2 separate regions of the Homo sapiens genome follow, and region 2 is linked to region 1. The links are contacts of gene promoters, found by promoter capture Hi-C in blood cells and fetal thymus (Javierre and others, 2016). All regions are on one chromosome and are shown on one strand. The core of a region is centred on a gene start or on the middle of the fragment in contact, and the rest is flanking DNA. Distances in the headings are between cores, read along the strand shown.

The links. The method cuts DNA at HindIII sites, captures the fragments that hold promoters and counts their contacts. A CHiCAGO score of 5 or more calls a contact.
Region 2: a contact is called between a fragment that was not itself captured here and the fragment with the promoter of MAGEH1 in region 1, in 1 of 17 cell types (endothelial precursors). The highest score is 6.8, in endothelial precursors.

The regions. Positions count from the first base shown.
Region 1 is chrX:55,450,829-55,453,429 of GRCh38, reverse strand. It overlaps MAGEH1 (MAGE family member H1), which reads right to left and starts at 1,303. Exons shown (of 1, transcript NM_014061.5): 1 at 1-1,303. The coding sequence starts at 1,055. The coding sequence ends at 396. It overlaps MIR4536-2 (microRNA 4536-2), which reads right to left and starts at 1,935; the gene lies at 1,848-1,935. MIR4536-1 (microRNA 4536-1) reads left to right here and starts at 1,848; the gene lies at 1,848-1,935. RefSeq lists enhancers at 841-890, 1,041-1,090. The HindIII fragment of the contact is 1,343 bases long and covers 1,080-2,422 here.
Region 2 is chrX:56,250,057-56,252,657 of GRCh38, reverse strand. KLF8 (KLF transcription factor 8) reads right to left here. Exons shown (of 6, transcript NM_007250.5): 2 at 2,354-2,427. Among named protein-coding and RNA genes, the nearest start is that of KLF8, 19 kb to the right of the region's middle. The HindIII fragment of the contact is 3,724 bases long and covers 1-2,601 here.

The DNA of each region.
Region 1 (2,601 bases), core at 54-2,553:
CAACATTTTACTGGGTATTTCAACTTCAAAAGAACAGCTTATTTCTATAAGTGCTGTACAAGATCATAGATTATGATGGAACGACTTCATTTTAGAACGTTAGCAAAACTGTTATACTAAATGTCAATGACAGGAAACAAAGAAAAAAATTTGTTCAATTATATTTTTAAACATATTGTTATTCTCAACAAACGGAATTTTAAAACGAATACAATTTTCCATTATCAAAAGCAAACACTCTATTTCGCAGTTGAACAATGATCACTGATCACAAATATCAAATACAGTGTCCCCCGCCCCCAATCGACATCATTTTCAACTTAGGACCCTGGCATCTACTCCTTGGGGTACCTGTGACTCTCTTTTACACCCCCAAGGGTCTGCCTCAGATCTACTTAAGGGGCGGAATAACCCCTAGCACCTGAATTGAGGATAGCCTCAACCTCTGCATCATCGTCCGAATCCCAGTCATAATTACAAGGCCAGTCTTTAGAGCATCGGTTACGAACCCTTGCCACAAAATGCATGACTTTCAGTTTGCTCGATTCCACGTGTGCTCGGGGCCCCCAGAAGAACTCATACTCCACCGGACTGCTACGGGGCACCGGTTTATAAATCAGGTACCCTCTGCGCACAAACTCTTCTGTGACGATCTTCTTCGGATCTCCAAAGATGCTGTGCTGACGTCCAGGCTGCATTCCTAACTTCCCCAGCACTTTCCAGACCAGAGCTTCCTTGGCGCTGTTGCCCATGATGAAGATGAGCGCTAATATAGACATCAGGAGACTTTTCTTGGTGCCCTGAAAATTGCTCCGGGGCACTGAAGGCTTTTGTGCTTGGGCAGTGCTCGAGGCTTCTTCAGGGGTGGTAGAGGCCTCCTCTGGAGTGCTCGGGTCTTCCTCGGGGCCGCTCAGGTCGTCTTCGGGGGTGCTCGCTACCACAGAGGCGGCCATAGGGGTCTCGGAGGCCTCTGAGGCCTGGATTTTGCGATTGTTGCGGTTCTCTTCTGCGGCTCTCGCATTACGGCGGCGCCGACTCTTTCGTCCCCGAGGCATGTCTCCTGCTAGAGGCTCAAAGCTTACAGCAGTCCTAGGGAAGGATGCTTGTAGCCTCTTCAGGAAGCAACAGCTTTATACCGTAAGAAGCTGCTGCCGCTGAAGCTACCAATGTCAATAGAGTCTTTGTAGCAATAAACAAGCCGTTCTCAGCTACAAAGGGTAGTTCCCACGCCAGCTGACTTGCGCGAGCAGCCGCCGCCAGCACTTGCCGCAGCTGCAAGCCCGCGAGAAAGCTCAGCAAAATTGGCCCCGCCTCTCCTGCCACGCACACTCCTAGCACCAAAGAGGAAGTAGGCTGGTCCTCCACAGGGACTTCCGCTAGCAGATAGGAAAAGGGGCAGGCAGCGACAGGGGTGGGACAAGGGCAGAAATGACAGCTAGAGATTGGAGGGGCCTGGAGTTTGCAGAAGAGAAAAAAATAGCTTAAAGTTTCTGTATTTTCAGCCTACTACAAACATTCCAAGATTGGCTCGACGGTCTAGGGAAGGAGTGCGTCGGCTCCATTCCCACTGACGACGGGCTGTGTGTGTGTTGGGGGTTGGGAGGCCAGGGGTGGCGGGAGGGTGTATTCTTGGAAGGAGTCAGCTGTCTCCAGCCTTCCTTTCCTGTCTTGGCTTACACAGCGCGTTCATTCACTCGCCCTGTTTTCAGAAGGCATTTGTGTGTATACTAATCAATTTGTGGTCCCATGTAGGACCCGGATAATATTGTTATGGCAGATGTGCTGGATGATGTGAGGAGATGGGACTGCAGAAACAAGCAGGGTGAAAGAGGTGCAGAGCCTTTAAAATGTGGTAGATATATGCACGATATATATACTGCCCTGCTTTTATACATACATACATACATACCTATATCGTGCATATATCTACCACATTATGTTTATATACAGTGCATATATCTACCACACATATATGTATGTATGTATGTATGAAAGCAGGGCAGTGACAGGATCAGAGGAATTGCATTTGTGCAGCCTCTCAGAAAAGCAAACTGTTTCCTGGCAGACCACATAGGAAGCAATTGGAATAAGAAGCACTGGGAACTAAAGTATGCCTTAAGGCTGTTGCCATGGGGATGGAGAGGCAGAAAGACATTTTAAAGGTGACCGTTGAAGGGCTTTGCAGACAGAATGGATGAAGTGGGGAATGTGGAGGGGATGATGGAGTTCAGATTGGCTCCAAGGTTTCTAGGCTCCAGTCTTCCTGGACTCCTGATTTATTTTGCTTCTTTCAGAGCATACTCTGAACTTTATCCACTGCTTGCTTTTGCTCACTGTTTGCTCTGCCTGACCTGTCTTCTCAGCCTTCTCCAACTATCTAAATTCCATTTGACTGCTCACAGACCTGTTTCTCCCTGAAGCTTGTCTTGATCTGCCCAAAAGGGTAATGAGTCCATTTTTACTCCATTGAGGAAAGCCCTATAACTAGCACTCTATATCTTTCTTATGTCATTCAAGGTATTAGTTTAAGCAAGTCACTTCTCTCTAAGCCTGTTTTCCCATCTATAAAGTGGGGCTAAAGTACAGCCCTCATAGGGTTGT
Region 2 (2,601 bases), core at 70-2,569, 800 kb before region 1:
TAGCTAAGATTTGGAAGCAACCTAAGTATTCATCAACAGATGAATGGATAAAGAAAATGTGTTACAGATACACAATGGAGTACTATTCAGCCATAAAAAGAATGAGATCCTGTCATTTGCAATAACATGGGTGGAACTGGAGATTATTATGTTCAGTGAAATAAGTCAGGTATAGAAAGACAAATATCACATGTTCTTATTTATTTGTGGGATCTAAAAATCGAAACCATTGAACTCATGGACATAGAGAGTAGAAGGATGGTTACCAGAGGCTGGGAAGGGCAGTGGGGTGTTGAGGAGGAGGTGGTCATGGTGAATGTGTACGAAAAAATAGTTAGAAATTGTCTGGGTGCAGTGGCTCTCTCCTGTAATCCCCAGCACTTTGGGAGGCCGACATGGGCAGATCACCTGAGGTCAGGATTTTGAGACCAGCCTGGCCAACATGGTGAAACCCTGTCTCTACTAAAAATACAAACAATTAGCTGGGCGTGGTGGCATGTGCCTGTAGTCCTAGCTACTCAGGAGGCTGAGGCAAGATAATTGCTTGAATCTGGGAGGCGGAGGTTGCAGTGAGCTGAGAAGCCACCACTGTACTCCAGCCTGGGCAACAGAGAGAGACTCCATCTCAAAAACAAAAAAAAGTTGGAAATAACAAATAAGACCTACTATTTGATAGCATGATAGGGTGACTAGAGTCAATAATAACTTAATTGTACACTTAAAAAATATCTAAAAGAGTGTAATTGCATTGTTTGTAACACAAAGGATAAATGCTGCAGGGATGGATACCCCATTCTCCATAATGTGATTATTTCACATTGCATGCCTGTATGAAAACATCTCAATGTATCCCATAAATATATACGCCTACTATGTACCTACAAAAATTAAAAATAAGGCCAGGTACGGTGGCTCACACCTATAAACCCAGCACTTTGGGAGGCCGAGGTGGGCGGATCATGAGGTCAGGAGTTCGAGACCAGCCTAGCCAATATGGTGAAACCCTGTCCCTACTAAAAATACAAAAATTAGCCGGGCATGGTGGTGCGTGCCTGTAGTCCCAGCTACTCAGGAGGCTGAGGCAGAAGAATAGCTTGAACCTGGAAGGCAGAGGATGCAGTGAGCCAAGATTGTGCCACTGCACTCCATCCTGGGTGACAAAGCGAGACTCCGTCTCAAATAAATAAATAAATAAATAAATAAATATATAAAAATTCAAAAAATAAAATAAAAGTTGAAATTATAACAAAAAGATTCCTAAATGTAACCAACTTTATCTGATGAATTAAATAAAGAAACAGACAAGTATTGTATATACAACACTGTATACTCAAGTCTATAGGTGATTTAAGGATTTTCAAGGTTAATTTTGACTGTATTTGAGTTTCACTCATGCAGTGAATTTGCAACCCCAAGAAAGACGGGACTTCAACATCTAGCACAGAGCCCTGGGACATAAAATCCAGATAACCTGTTTCGAATCCTAATTCTTGGAGTGTTCAAGGCCAGTTTTATTTTCCATCAAATGGGGAAACTAAGAATAATGATGGTTAATTTTATGTGACAACTTGGCTGGGCTACAGTGCCCAGATATTTGGTCAAACATTATTCTAGATGTTTCTGTGAAGGTATTTTTTTGGATGAGACCAACATTTAAAACATTGTACTTTAAATAGGGCACATTACTCTCTATAATGTGAGTGGTCCTCAACCAATCAGTTGAAGACCTTAGTTTTTAAAACAAAGACTGTCCTCCATAGAGCAAGAAAGAATTCTTCTCACAATCTGCTTTTGGACTCAAACTGTAACTCCTTCTGAATCTCCAGCCTGCCGGCCTACCCCTGATGGGGTTTTGGACTTGCCATGCCTCCACAATCTAATGAGCCAATTTCTTGAAATCTCTCTCTCTCTCTCTCTCCATGTACATATATGCATACACACACACATACACCATACACACATATCCTGTTGGTTCTGTTTCTCTGGAGAATACTAATTAATACACTGTTCAACAGGATTATGGTGAAGATTAAATAAGACAATGCATTTAATCTTCATCCTATCTGAAATATGAAATAGTGCTATATAAATAGTTGCTATTGTCTACTAAAGGTCTACTCTTGTCTTTATAGCCTTGATTCCAGAGGCTATGTTTCTTTTAGGCCAGATCTACTCCCCAGCTGACTATGAAACCAAGGCATTCATATACTTTCTAGAAATATGTCTTCCTTCACCTCTTCTCAATCCCCAAACATGTTATAGAAAGAAAAATGAGTTTAAATTCTGTAATCACTACCAGGTATTCAATACTATTATGGCCCAATATTAGCACCCTATTTTCCTGATAACTGACCTGCTTGAATACCTGCATTGAGCCACCTTCTGAATTAAGTTGGACCTCCAAGTTGTTTATGAGTTTATCCATATCTGGAAAAGAGAAAAGGAAAAGACAACTTTCAGAATAAAATCTAACCCACTATATGCATAAATATGCCATTAATGTTATGTGTGTTCTATGACCTTTATCTTTCAGTGCTTACCAGATACTGATAAGTCATTGAAACCTTCTGATTTATTTTACTCATCAAGATGGACCTAACT